Regions from separate parts of the Homo sapiens genome. Here regions 2, 3 and 4 are each linked to region 1. The links are contacts of gene promoters, found by promoter capture Hi-C in human tissues and cell types (Jung and others, 2019). All regions are on one chromosome and are shown on one strand. The core of a region is centred on a gene start or on the middle of the fragment in contact, and the rest is flanking DNA. Distances in the headings are between cores, read along the strand shown.

The links. The method cuts DNA at HindIII sites, captures the fragments that hold promoters and counts their contacts. A contact is called where the count stands out against the background at its distance.
Region 2: the fragment with the promoter of PGLS here is called in contact with a fragment that was not itself captured in region 1 in 2 of the 25 tissues and cell types used here (dorsolateral prefrontal cortex and lymphoblastoid cells).
Region 3: the fragment with the promoter of PGPEP1 here is called in contact with a fragment that was not itself captured in region 1 in 3 of the 25 tissues and cell types used here (H1 embryonic stem cells, dorsolateral prefrontal cortex and spleen).
Region 4: the fragment with the promoter of UNC13A here is called in contact with a fragment that was not itself captured in region 1 in 4 of the 25 tissues and cell types used here (aorta, dorsolateral prefrontal cortex, heart left ventricle and 1 more).

What each region holds. Positions count from the first base shown.
Region 1 is chr19:17,953,123-17,956,627 of GRCh38, reverse strand. It overlaps a transcript of KCNN1 not described here. Among named protein-coding and RNA genes, the nearest start is that of KCNN1, 12 kb to the left of the region's middle. The HindIII fragment of the contact is 4,437 bases long and covers 1-3,505 here.
Region 2 is chr19:17,509,958-17,513,462 of GRCh38, reverse strand. PGLS (6-phosphogluconolactonase) reads right to left here and starts at 1,814. Exons shown (of 5, transcript NM_012088.3): 1 at 1,503-1,814. The coding sequence starts at 1,790. It overlaps PGLS-DT (PGLS divergent transcript), which reads left to right and starts at 1,574. Exons shown (of 3, transcript NR_147835.1): 1 at 1,574-2,120. RefSeq lists enhancers at 341-996, 827-1,086, 1,049-1,343, 1,837-2,086, 1,654-2,310 and 1 more and silencers at 1,049-1,343, 1,587-1,636, 1,647-1,776. The HindIII fragment of the contact is 13,558 bases long and covers 1-3,505 here.
Region 3 is chr19:18,338,978-18,342,482 of GRCh38, reverse strand. It overlaps PGPEP1 (pyroglutamyl-peptidase I), which reads right to left and starts at 1,885. Exons shown (of 5, transcript NM_017712.4): 1 at 1,768-1,885. The coding sequence starts at 1,801. RefSeq lists an enhancer at 1,328-2,015 and a silencer at 1,847-2,036. The HindIII fragment of the contact is 61,917 bases long and covers 1-3,505 here.
Region 4 is chr19:17,686,832-17,690,336 of GRCh38, reverse strand. It overlaps UNC13A (unc-13 homolog A), which reads left to right and starts at 1,983. Exons shown (of 44, transcript NM_001080421.3): 1 at 1,983-2,159. The coding sequence starts at 2,138. RefSeq lists a silencer at 2,465-2,647 and enhancers at 1,881-2,841, 2,842-3,505. The HindIII fragment of the contact is 19,419 bases long and covers 1-3,505 here.

The sequences.
Region 1 (3,505 bases), core at 321-2,820:
ACCACACACATGCACCACCCCACTGGTTAATTTAAAAAAAAAAAAATTGTAGAGATGGGTTCTTGCTACATTGCCCAGGCTGGTCTCAAGCTCCTGAGCTCAAGTGATCCTCCTGTCTTGGCCTCCCAAAGTTCTGGGATCACAGGCATCAGCCACTGTATCCAGCACAAAACACTTAAGCTTAATTGATGCCCCATGAAATTCCACAAGGGCTGACCTGGGCTGGCCTTTGTCCTTATTGCATCCCAGCATCCAGCCTAGGGCCTGGCAGACAGTAGCTAGCTTGCTCAGTGTTTGTTGATTGACTAAATGACCACCACCTCTGTTTTCTCCACACCCCCATGGGCAGCTTAGTGCTGACCCTGGATGTCAGTCAGTGTTCACCAAGGAGGCCTGGCTCAGTGGCTCACGCCTGCAATCCCAGCACTTTGGGAGGCCAAGACAGGTGGATCACCTGAGGTCAGGAGTTCGAGACCAGCCCGGCCAACATGGGGAAACCCCATCTCTACTGAAAACACAAAAATTAGCTGTGCGTGGTGACGCATGCCTGTAATCCCAGCTACTTGGGAGGCTGAAGCAGGAGAATCGCTTGAACCCGGTGGGGTGGAGGGTGGAGGTTGCAGTGAGCCAAGATCATGCCACTGCGCTCCAGCCTGGGCGACAGAGTCAGACTCTGTCTCAAAACAAACAAACAAAACAAAACAAAACAAAACTAAAAAAAAAAAGTTCACTGGAGAAAGGAGCACAGGAGCTGCCTTCCACAGAGCTGGCCTACCCTGGGGGCTGTCTCCAGCGAGACCACGAGAGCCGGGAAGTAGAGGCTGTGTGTGGGGGGCGGGGGCGGGAGTGGTGGGACAGAGCTCTTCCAACCTGGCTCAACACCCCACTTCTAGGTCATCTGGCCTCTCTGAATAGTTTCCCCAACTCCAGTGATCAAAGAAAGTGGACAGTAACTCCCCGGAGGCTCTAGAAAGCATAGTCCTTGCTATCATCATCATGATATATATGATATAATAATAATTATATTATTATTTTTTTTCTTTCTTTCTTTTTTTTTTTTTTTTTGGAGATGGAGTTTCACTCTTGTTGCCCAGGCTGGAGTGCAATGGCACAATCTCGGCTCACTGCAACTTCCGCCTCCTGGGTTCAAGTGATTCTCCTGCCTTAGCCTCCCAAGTAGCTGGGATTACAGGCATGCAGCACCATGCCTGGCTAATTTTGTATTTTTAGTAGAGATGGGGGTTTCACCCTGTTGGCCAGGCTGGTCTCGAACTCCTGACCTCAGGTGATCTGCCTGCCTTGGCCTCCCAAAGTGCTGGGATTACAAGCGTAAGCCACCACGTCTGGCCTTTTTTCTTTTTTTTTTTTTTAATTAAAGAGATGGGGGTCTCGCTCTGTCGCCTAGGCTGGAGTGCAGTGGCCATTCACAAGCGTGATCATAGCTCACTGCAGCCTCGAACTCCTGGACTCGATACTCCCACCTTAGCCTTCCGAGTAGCTAGGACCACAGGTGCACGCCACTGTACCCAGCTTGTTATTATTTCAAAAGCTGGCACTTTTTCCTCAGGTCACCTTTTTTTTTTTTTTTTTGAAACAGAGCTTTGCTCTGTCGCCCAGGCTGGAGTGCAGTGGCGCGATCTTGGCTCACTGCAACCTCTGCCTCCCGGATTCAAGTGGTCCTCCTGCCTCAGCCTCCCAAGTAGCTAGGATTGCAGGTGCCCACCACCATCCCCGGGCAATTTTTGTATTTTTAGTAGACACGGGGTTTCGCCATGTCGGCCAAACTGGCCTCAAACTCCTGACCTCAAGTGATCCACCTGCCTCAGCCTCCCAAAGTGCTGGGATTACAGGCGTGAGCCACCTAGCCTGCCCAGTTACCAATTTTTCTATCCAACCCCTGAGCCACCCCCACCCCCAAAGGCGACCCAAGTCTGGGATTCACTCACCCTAGGGTGCAGGGGTCTCCTCGCCGAGCCACTGCAAAGGGGCTGTCCCCTTCAGTCCTGCTGGTGACCACTTGACTGGGAGAGAGGGTGGCTGCTGCTGCCTTTCCTGTCCCTTTGAGATCTGTAATGATCAGACAGGGGGTGCGGGGTGGAGGCGGGGACCCAAAAGAGTAGGGTGCAGACAGCTCCCGGACTACAGTGGTCTTTCTTATTTTTTATTTTTTTGAGACAGAGTCTTGCTCTGTCACCCAGGCTGGAGTGTAGTGATGTGATCTCAGCTCACTGCAACTGCCGCCTCCAGGGTTCAAACAATTCTCCTGCCTCAGCCTCCCAAGCATCTGGGATTACAGGTGCCTGCCACCATGCCCGGCTACTTTTTGTATTTTTAGTAGAGATGGGGTTTTGCTGTGTTGGCCAGGCTGGACTTGAACTCCTGGCCAGAGGTGATTCACCTGCTTCAGCCTATTACGTACAATGGTCTTTACAGCAGATCTGCGCTCTGGCTTGGTGTTGCTGAGCTGGGTCATCTCCTAAGCTTTCAGGAAGCTTAAGAACAGTGGCTTTATCACTCCAATGGGGCCCTGGGCTAGCCCCACCTCTTCCATGTCCCCTCCCTAAGGCCACTCCTCCTTTCACTGGGCTCCAGAAGCTAGACACTGAATGCTTTATCTGTCTTTCCCAATGCTGTTCCTGCTCACCCCCTCACATTGCCCCTAGTTCCTTCGCCATGGGGAGATCTAGGTGGGTGACATTCAGGGAGGTGACATTTTGTCACCCAGGCTGGAGTGCAGTCGCATGAACATGGCTCACTGCAGCCTTGACTTCCCGGGCTCAAGCGATCCTCCCACCTTCGGCCCCCAAGTAGCTTGGACTACAAGTGTGCACCACTACACCTGGCTAATTTTTTTAATTTTTTGTAGAGACAGGGTTTCAGTACGTTGCCCAGGCTGGTCTCGAACTCCTGAGCTTGCCTCGCCCTTCCAAAGTGTTGGGATTACAGTTGTGAACCACCTCGCTTGGCAGAGCAGCTGAACTCTTGCTCCCCAGCTCTGAAGCTGCCCTGGGAGCCTGTAGCTCCCTTGGCGTGCTCCCTCCATCTATTTAGTGCTGTCTGCAGAGGGCTTATAGAAGCACATGGTACCCAAGTCCGATCCTGGAGAAGAGGGCAGAAAAGGACACCCCATGGAGGGCAGGGGCAATGCCAGACCCCAGAACAGGACTGAAGGGGAAACCCCCAGCTGCCCTTTCTCTCACCAGGACCTGGGATCGGGGCAATGGTCACCTTGGATGGCTCAGGGGCCACCTGTTCCAGCCAGGGGGACTTGGTGCTGACCCTAGCCTTGGGAGGGCAGGGCCTTGTCCAAGGTCACTCAGCGGGTTGCTGCGTCGGAGTAAAAATTATCTCCTCCGTGGCTCCAGAAGCTTTGACTTCCCCATCTATAAGCCCCCTCCCCCCAGGGATTTCCTTTGATGAGGTCTTGGGCAGCCTGAGGAGGCTGGGAGCGGGGGCACACGGGGGACAAGAGGAGGTGAGATCTGGGAGCCCCGGAAGAGAGCGA
Region 2 (3,505 bases), core at 565-3,064, 440 kb after region 1:
ATCTCGGTTCACTGATCATGCCTCACTCCTGCCTCAGCCTCCCGAGTAGCTGGGATTACAGGTGCGCACCACCACACCTGGCTAATTTTTGCATTTTTAGTAGAGACAGGTTTCACCATGTTGGTCAGGTTGGTCTCAAACTCCTGACCTCGTGATCCGCCCGCCTCAGCCTCCCAAAGTGCTGGGATTACAAGCGTGAGCCACCGCACCCAGCCAATTTTTGTATTTTTTTTTAGTAGAGACAGAGTTTTGCCATGTTGGCCAGGCTGGTCTCGAAATCCTGACCTCAGGTGATCTACTCACGTCGGCCTCCCAAAGTGCTGGGATTACACGCGTGAGCCACCGCACCCGGCCAAAACTTTTTAATGATGCTCTTGGAAAACACACACAGGAAGGCGGAAGTTAAATGTGTACCCAACTACGAAGTCAGATGAGGCAGGATCACACCCTGGCTGCCCCTCTGGTCACTAGATGCCTTGGGCAGGTAAGCTCACCTCTTCTGGCCTCAGTTTCTCCATCTGTGAAATGAGTGTAACATCTCATAGGCTGTGGTACGGACTCATGAATTGATGCATATAAAGCGTTCAGTAAGCCTTTTCTCTTAATAAAAAACCCACAAAACCATCATCAGCTCAAGATTCTATGCAAAGAGAAGACGGCACACCCAGCATGGGGTGTCCCTTGACGCTGCCAGACTCAAGTGACTTGAGGTTCCTGGCCTTTGAGCCCGCCCCTCCCACTCTTCCCTCGGCCAGGCCAAGGCTCCTCCAAGCCTCAGTTACCCTGTCTTTAAAAGAGCGCGCTCCTCTGATTCTATAGAATCCTGAGGCTCAAAGCCAAAGATGAACAGCCTGGAAGCAGAGCCATCAGAGCGGCAAAGCTGCCCAGGGATCCCCGAGAACTCGCTGGGGTTAGAGATCAGGACCCTGAGATTCAGGCTCTACACCTGATTCCTCGTGCCCCCGTCCGCTACGGGGCTGAGTTATGGGCATCGTTTGACATGGGCCACTCGGATTCCCTTCCAGGCCCTTGCCCGTGCCGTTCCCTCTGCCTGGCCACCGGATGAAGCAGGAAGACGGACTGCAAGTAGACCATTTCTAGCCCTGCCTAGATAAAGGCAGAGGGCGCAGTGAGGTCCTGCGGGACCCACTGTAGGCGGGGTTCAGGAGGCGGGCGAGCCCTGTCGGCTAGACCCCCAGCGGCCCCCGTAGTCGAGGTGCAGGCAGTGGGCGTGACCATCTCGGCATGACCCCCAGTGGCCCCCGTAGCCGAGGGCAACCGGTGGGCGCGGCCCTCTTGGCATGACCCCCAGCGACCCACGTAGCCGAGGTGCAGGCAGTGGGCACGGCCCTCTTGGCATGATACCCAGTGGCCCCCGTAGCCGAGGTGCAGACAGTGGGCGCGGCCCTTTCGGCATGGCCCCCGGCGGCCTCCGTAGCCGGGGTGTAGGCGGTGGCTGTGGCCCTCTCGGCGTGATCCCCGGCGGCCCCCGTAGCTCTCACCCGGTAGAGGCCGTACGTGCTCTCGGCGTGATCGAAGGGCACGAGGCGCTCGTCGCAGAAGCCCAGCGTCCAGCGCGCTAAGCTAGCTGGCCCGGCAGGGGCGACGGCGGCGGGTAGCTCGCGGGCTAGCATCGAGACGAGGCTCCCGCCCGACAGGCCGAGCGCGAAACGGGCGCGGGCCCCTGCCAGGCAGCATGCTGCGCGCTGGGCCACCAGCTGCGCTAGCGCCGCACCCAGCTCCTGGGAACTCGAGAACACCGAGATGAGGCCCGGGGCCGGCGCGGCCATGGCGAGGGCGGCGGCGGGGAGGAGGAAGCGCTCCCTACGGCCGTCGCTAGTACGCCTGCGCAAGGGCCGGCCCTGCCGCTTGGTTTCGAGTACTTTGGGTGATTGTCTTTGGCACATGCGCAGTGAGGCAAGTGAAGCACCGCGAAGGTCGGGCAGTCGGTCCGGCCCTACCCATTGAATCTTTGCCTGCTGTGCCTGAGTCGAAGTGAGTTCGGGAAGCCAGTGCCCGAATGCTCAACCTTGCTGTATCAGGGAGGGCCGGAGAGGGGAGCTCAAGAAGAGGACGTCCTATCGAGGTGGCAGGGATTTTCTGAAGGAGGGCGTATTTTGGTGAGTTTTAAAATTCCTGCACCGCCGGGCGCGGTGGCTGACGCCTGTAATCCCAACACTTTGGGAGGCCGAGGCGGGCGGATCACGAGGTCAGGAGATCGAGACCATCCTGGCTAACACGGTGAAACCCCGTCTCTACTGAAAACACAAAAAATTAACCGGGCGTAGTGGCGGGCGCCTGTAGTCCCAGCTACTCGGGAGGCTGAGGCAGGAGAATCGCTTGAACCGGGGTGGCGGAGGTTGCAGTGAGCCGAGATCGTGCCACTGCACCCCAGCTTGGGCGACAGAGCGAGGCTCCATCTCAAAAAAAAGTAGGGGATGAAAATATGCTTGTTGAATTTTTTTTTTTTTTTTTTTTACATTTTCCGGACGGACGGGCTCTTGCTATATGGTCTAGGCTGATCTTGAACCCCTGGGCTCAAGCGATCTTCCTGCCTCGGCCTCCCAAAGTGGTAGCATTCAGGCGAAAGCCACTGCGCCTGGCCATGCTTGTTGAATTTTTTAAGCTAACCCTCCTAGTGTGGTGGTGTGTCCCTCTGAGTGCCCAGAAAGGCCTCCAATCGAGTTCTTGCCTGGACAGAGGGCTGGAAGGGGAAGAAGGCCTGGTGGGCCTGGGGAGGCTGGGCCACTTCTGAGAGTGGGATATTTCAGTGATGTGTGTAAGCGCAGTTCAACTCACACAGGTAGTGGATTTTAAAATCAGTAGCAAATTAAGAAAACAATTCCATTTACCATAGCATCATAAAGTATAAAGTAGGCATAAATTTAATAAAAGAAGTACAAGACTGTACTTCTTGAGAGCTGTAGCTGGGCTTGGTGGCTCACAGCTGTAATCCCAGCACGTTGGGAAGCCAAGGCTGGACCCGGTGGCAGCTGCCTGTGGTCCCAGCTACTTGGGAGGCTGTGGTGGGAGGATCACTTGAGCCCAGGAGACTAAGGCTGCAGTGAGCTGTGTTCCTGCCATTCCACTCCAGCCTGGGCAATAGAGTGAGACCCTGTCTCGAAACAAGCAAAAGAACTAAAACTTTGGTGAAAAAAAAAATTAAAGATGATCTAAATAAATGGTAAGACATTCCACGTTCATGGATTGGAAAGTATAATATTGTTAAGATGGCAGTACTCCACAAATTGGTCTACGGATGCAATGTAATCCCTTTCAAATTTACAATGTTTTTGTTGAAATTGACAAATTGATCCTAAAATTAATAATAAATTGCAAATGGCCCCAAAATAGCCAAAACAATATTGAATAAAATACGAGGACTCATACTTTCTCATTTCAAACAATAAAAAGGTACAATAACCAAAACTGTGGTATTGGCATAAGGATAGACATATAAATAAATGATTGGAACTGATGCAGAAATAAACCTATGCATATATGG
Region 3 (3,505 bases), core at 636-3,135, 390 kb before region 1:
TGAGGAATGAGCCCTCCAGGCTGTCTAGATTTCACCTTGTCACCCTCCTCCCTGCTAGCTCAAACTCCAGGCCCCCTTTCCAAAACACGACAGTCGCCCAAGGCTGTGCTAAGTGATCTTCCTGGCATTAAGCCTGGCCACATCCCCTTTCAGGCAAGGGTGTTTCCTAGGCCCAGTTTCCAGGAGCAGGGACTGAGGCACAGAGAGGTGAAGCTAGCTGCCCAAGGTCACACAGCAAGAAGGTGAAAAAGCTGGGATTCAAATCCAGATCTGGGGCTGGGTGCGGTGGCTCATGCCTGTAATTCCAGCACTTTGGGAGGCCAAGGCGGGCGGATCACCTGAGGTCAGAAGTTTGAGACCAGCCTGGCCAACATGGTGAAACCCCGTTTCTACTAAAAATACAAAAAATTAACCAGATGGGGTGATGCGTGCCCGTAATTCCAGCTACTCAGGAGGCTGAGGCAGGAGAATCGCTTGAACCCAGGAGGCGAAGGTTGCAGTGAGCCGAGATCGCGCCGTTGTGCTCCAGCTTGGGCAACAAGAGCAAAACTCCGTCTCAAAAAAAAAAAAATACGGTCCATCTGGGCCAGTGATCCCACAGGATATGAATGCTATGCAGAGATGCTGTAGCCTGGGATAGCAGGTAGGGGCTGTGGCTCAGGAGGGGACCTCCTAACTCTATCCTTCTGTACAGCCAAAGTTTGAGTCTCAGCTCAGCCCCTTACAAACTGGATGACCTCTGTGAGCCTCAGTTTCCCTTTCTGCAAAATGGAGACAGTAAAGATGTAATCAGCTCATGCAAAAAGTGCTGGAATAAATAACCAGATAAAGGAAGGCTGGAAGGGATGGGGGCAGTGACCCTCCTCCCAATTATACACACCTGTTAAGCAGGTGCCTTGTTTCTTCCTTCTTCCCTGAATCTCCTGGATCAGCCTCAATCTCCCTTCAACAGCCACAAAACACCTGTGTGCACCTTTGCTGGATTTCCCACTCTGACCCCTCCAGACAGCAGGTCAAAATGACCCCCCCACTCCTTGACTCTGAGGCCCCAGCGGAAGTTGGCGCCCCACGTGGCCCCGAGGCGGAGTCTCAGGGAGGAGAAACAGTTGGTTTGGGGGTGGGGGGGAGTCGGTGACAGCAGGGGCCCTGACTCACCAACAAACAGCCCTGGCACAAAACACAAAAAGGTTTCCGCTGAAGACAGTCCCTGGGACAGCTGGGAGAGCCCGAGGTCCCCGGACCCCCACCTGCCCCTGCCTTGGGAGAGTAGCCCCCCAGGAGCGCAGGGCGCGGCGAGCAGTGACTGGGAGGTTCATTTGTCACTGGGACACTTCCTGCCCGCAAATCGGCCTTTGTCCCCTGGGGCCAGGGGTTGGGGGAGCGGTGTGGGGACAGGCTGGACCTCGGAAGGGGCAGGGAGGAAGGGTCCAGTCCAGCCCGCAGGCCAGACAGAGGAGGCAGGTGCCAGGAGGGTCACCATCCCCACCTTGGGAGGAAAGGACGCCAGGGGGGCCTGCGCAGCGCCGGGCTTTTGCCCGGCCCCCCAAGCCCCGCGCCCGACTGCCCTGACTCCCGACCCTGGGACCCCCAAGGCTCCTCCTCCTCCACTTTCCAGGAAGCCTGGGCTGCGCGGGGCTCCCGCGGGTGATGACACCTTCCAAATCTGAGAGGACTTCCAGCACCTGCCCCTCTCGGCCCCGCAGTCCCGGAGCCGCCCCCGCCTCTGCCCCCGGCCGCTGCCGCTACAGCCCCCATCAGCCAGCGTACCCGTCACTACCACCGCCTTCCTCGGCTGCTCCATGGCGGGATCGGGCTGTGCCTCGGACCTGCTTCTGTTGCGACTGGCGCGACAGCTGCTGCCGCTGCAGCCTCTCGGCCGCGCGAGGCCACGCCCCTGTCAAGCCCCCGGCCTCGCCCCCGGTCAGCCGCTCGGCGTGCGCGCCCCCGGGCCCGAGACGCAGCGTGCGCGCCCTGCGCCCCGCCCCCGTCGGCTAGGCCCGGTATTCCCCAGCCTCCGTTTCCCCGTCTGCAAAATGGGAACATCTTATGCCGTAGTGTGTAGCCGCTTGCACGCACTGAGCCAGGTGCTGGGGATGAGCCGGTCCTTTATTCTGCAAGGGTTCATTGAGGGCCTGCCCTATGCATGCATACTGCGCAGAATTAGGGAGGGAAGTCCCCGCGAGCAAGGCCCGTTTTCCAGATAAGGAAACTGAGGCACAGAATGCCACTTCCCCGAGGTCACTCGCCTCAAGGGGTCACAGGAGCAGCATTCAGGCCAGGAAGTTGGCGGGGGTGGGGGAGGACAGAGTAAAAAAGGAAAAACACGACAACCATATTTGTGTGGTGCCAGAAGTTTCTCTGCAGGCCCCCATGGTCCTAGGAGGCTAATGGGGGAGGGCGATTGTACCTGCTGTTCCCTCTGCCGGAACACACCCCGCAGGTACCTGCGAAGCTGGCCTCCTTCAGGCCTCAGCTCCAGTGTTCCAATGTCGCCTCCTCCCAGGGGCCCTCCTCCTGTCCTGGCTGTCACCTCCTCCGAGGGGTGAACTGTCACTTTCTCCTTGTGGCCTTCTCTGGCTATCACCTCCCTGCTATCCTATTACCTCCTCTGAGGGTTCCTTCTGGCCCTCCTTGGCTGAAATGACCTCACTGCTACCCCCCAGTGGTTCCATCTCATTCCCTGGTTCCATCCTCTTCATAGCAATAAAGCTCAGAAATAATTTCCTTTCTCTCTCTTTTTTTTGGAGACAGGGTCTCACTCTGTTACCCAGGCTGGAGTGCAGTGGCAAAATCATAGCTCTGTAACTTTGACCTCCAGGGCTCAACTGATCCTCACATCTCAGCCTCCTGAGTAGCTGGGACTACAGGTGTGTGGCACCACACCCAGCTAATTTTTGTATTTTTGTAGAGATGGGGGTTTCATAGTGTTGCACAGGCTGGTCTCGAACTCCCGAGCTCAAGCAATCCGCACACCTTGGCCTCCCAAAAGTGCTGGGATTACAGGTGTAAACCAGCACACCTGGCCAGAAATCATTTTTAATTTTTTTTAGCTTTTAAGTTTTGGGGTACATGTGCAGGTTTGTTATATAGATAAACTCGTGTCATGGGGTTTGTTGTACAGATTATTTAGTCCCCCAGGTATTATTAAGCAGAAATTATATATGTATTTATTTATTTGAGACGTAGTTTCACTCTTGTCACCCAGGCTGGAGTGCAGTGGTGTGATCTTGGCTCACTGCAACCTCTGCCTCCCGGGTTCAAGCAATTCTCCCACCTCAGCCTCCCAAGTAGCTGGGATTACAGGCGAGTGCCGCCATACCCAGCTAATTTTGTATTTTTAGTAGAGAGGGAGGTTCACCATGTTGGCCAGGCTGGTCTCGAACTCCTGACTTCAGGTGATCCACCCTTTTCAGCTCCCAAAGTGCTGGGATTACAGGCGTGAACCACTGCCTCCGGCCCCCTCCCCAGGTATTATTAAGCAGAAATCATTTAGTATGGTCACAGC
Region 4 (3,505 bases), core at 734-3,233, 270 kb after region 1:
AACATCAATGTTTTATTGATTATCAATGTTTAATAAAACATCTACTCATTGATGTTTAATAAAAATTTAAGACCAGGCATGGTGGCTCATGAGCCTGTAATCCCAACATTTTGGGAGGCTGAGACGGGAGGATCACTTGAGCCCAGGAGTTTGAGACAGCCTGTGCGACATGGTGAAACTCTGTCTCTACAAAAAATACAAAAATTAGCTGTGCTGATTTTTTTAAAAATTTAAAGCAGTGACAGATACAAACATGGTTACTATTAGGCATTAAGATTACAACTGGGGCCAGGCGCGGTGGCTCATTCGTGTAATCCCAGCATTTTGGGAGGCCACGGTGGGTGGATCACTTGAGGTCAGGAGTTTGAGACCAGCCTGGCCAACATGGTGAAACCCCATCTCTACAAAAAATACAAAAAAATTAGCTGGATGTGGTGGCGAGCGCCTGTAATCCCAGCTACTCAGGAGGCTGAGGCAGGAAGATCACTTGGAGGTTGAGGTTGCAGTGAACTGAGATGGTGCCACTGCACTCCAGCCTGGGCCACAGATTGAGACTACACCTCCAAAAAAAAAAAAATTACAACTGGTTTCACATGTTAACTCATGTAATACCTCCAGCAACCTTGTGAGGCAGGACTTGTTATCATATTCATTCTACAGGTGCGGAAACTGAGGCACGAGGAGGTCACAAGACCTGCCCAAGGCCATGCTTGTGATGAGAGACAGAGTTTGGTTTTGAACAATGGCCTCACTCAACTCCATGCACATTCTGCATTTATGAAGCTCTTTCATGTGGGCTGGGGGCAGGAGACCCTGTGGGGCTCAGCCTTTCATGCTAGTTTAGGTGCCAGTGATACAGCGAGCAGGTTGCAGGGCAAGGGGCCCACATGGAGCTGCCCAGTTTGATATGTGGGGAGGGGGCCAGGCGCAGTGGCTCAGGTCTGAATCCCAGCACTTTGGGAGGCCGAGATGGGCGGATCCCCTGAGGTCAAGTGTTCAAGACCAGGCTGGCCAACATGGTGAAACCTCGTCTCTACTAAAAATAAAAAAAATAAAATAAAAAAAAAAAGCTGGGCATGGTGGCATGCGCCTGTAGTCCCAGCTACTCGGGGAGGCTGAGGCAGGAGAATCTCTTGATCCCAGGAGGCAGAGGTTGCAGTGAGCCAAGATTGCGTCACTGCATTCCAGCCTGGGCTGCAGAGGGAGACTCCATCTAAAAAAAAGAAAAGTGGGGAGGAGTGGCAGAGTTTCGTTCGGGTCAGGGCCCAATCAGAGGAAGGGATAGGGGCTGGGGGAGTCCAGAGAGGAGAAACAAAGGCTCAGCTTGGGGCAGTCAGGGAAGCCTTCCTGGAGGAGAGGATATTCAGACAAGACATTGATGGATGAAAAGGAGTTCAGAGTGTGGGCAAGGACCCATGGGCTGGATGGCTTAGAGACATAGAGAGAGACCTAGACAGGATGCAGTAGAGCTGCAAAAAGACTTTACAGAGAGAGGCTAAGAGACACATGACTGAGAGAGCAGTGGACAGAGTCAGAGGAACAGAGACCCAGGGAGAGAAAGAGACCAGGCAGTAGAGTTAGAGAGACAGAGACGTAGAGACAGAGGAAGAGAGATACTCAGAGAACAGGACCATCTGCCCGGTGCTGGTGCCGGGCGTACACACAAGAGCTTGCATTTGCCTGTACTTGCTTGAGTATTGCAGGGAGGCGTTTGCCCAGGTTACCAGGGCAGGAATGTCCATGCATGGGTGGCGGGGGCACGTGCACCATTTCAGTGCAGGTGAGGGTCTGCACAGGAGGAAACCTGCTTGGGGGCCGCCGTCGCCCCTTGTCCCCCTGCAACGAGGAGGTGTGGGGCGAGGCGCCCCTTCCCGGAGCCAGGCCCTTTAACGCCCCCCCAGCCCGCAGCGCCCCCGCCCCATCAGGCGTCCCTGGGCTCCGCCTGCCCGCCCCGCATCAGCGCCACGTCAGGCGCTGTCCGCGCCCCCGGTGCTGAACCAAGATGGCCGGTGGCGGCCGGGCCCCGGCGTGAGCCAAGCGCGGGCTGCAGCCGGGAGATGCCCCAGCCCAGCGGCCGCTGAGCCCGACCCGACAGAGCCGGCCCGGCCGCCTCCGGCCCACCTGCGAGCTCGGAGACATGTCTCTGCTTTGCGTTGGAGGTAGGAGGCGAGGCTGGGGGTCGGGGGACCCGTGTGGACGCGGGCTGGGGTCGGGGTCCGCGTGGATGCGGCTCCCAGGGGGTTCCTGGGGGGTGACCCGAGTCCAGGTGGCTGGACTTTTGAGAGGGGTAGCCCTTGTCGACGCAGCTGGGCCCCGGAGGGGGTGATCCGTGTAGACGCGGCAGGGCTCTCGGGGGTCCTGGTGGCCGCTGCTGGAGGGGTCGTGTGGACGCGGCTGAACGCGGAGGCCCGTGTGGACGTGGACGGGTATCCGGGGTTCTACCCGGAAACGATCTAGACTGGGGCGTCTGTGTAGACCAGGTTTTTAGAGGGTCAGTGAGGAAGAGTCTGGGCTCGGTAGTTTGATTGAAGCCTGCAGGGGTGCTTGGAAGGGGTCTGGTGTTGTGGGCTGGGTTACGGGTCCTCATGGACGCGGACCCGGCTGGAAATTCGAAGGAGAGTGCGGTGGGAGGGTTCTCCAAGCCGTGGGGATGTAAGATATAGGTAGAGGGGCTTGGCCATCAGGGCATCCACGAGTTCTAGGACTCTCCCAGCCCTAGGTGTAAAGAGGACTGGAGTGGGGGGAGTGTGGAGACAGGAGACCCCTCCCAGCGTCCAGAGAGGGCTGTGACTGGAGGTCTGGGGGCGCTTTTCCAGTTAACTCTTTGGCCTCCCGAGTGAGGGGGTTGGAGGAATGTCCAGAAGGTCTTCCCGCTCCCTGCCCCCTCCGGTTCTCCCAAACACGTTTCAGGGCCTTCTCGGCAGGGAGCCTACTTCTTGGAAGAGCAATGTCTCCTGGTCCCCCTCCTGGCCCATCCTCACCTCACCCACTTTGCACTGGAGAGAGGGAGGGAGGGAGACGTGAGGTGGGGGGGGAGCTATTTTGGGGCCAGAACGCCATCTGCACAGAGGCCCACGCCCAGGCCCACGCTCTGCGTTGGGGTTGGAGGAGGGAGGGAGACGTGGGAGGGGCATGACCCCCCACCCCACACCTTTATGGCTCTGGGGTCGTGGGGAAGCCAGCCCAACCGAACCCAGGCGTTCTGGGCACTCCCGTTTGAGAAATCAAACTCTGGGAGACCTTGGGCGGCAGGGGTGGATGTGGACCGCCGTTCCACGCCTACAGAGCTCTGAACCCCTGGTTCTTAAGGACTGGGGTCCCCCCGTCACTCCCACCCATTTCAAGAAGGCTGGGGTGGGGGAAGGGGTGTGTCTGCCAAGCCTGAGACTGCAGGCTTCGGGAGACCTCGGGCGACAGGAAGCGTGCGTGTGCTGAACTCCTGCTGCCTGGACACAGGGTGGGCAGGCCGGGGAGCCGGGAACCGCCCCCGCCGCCCCTCCTCCTC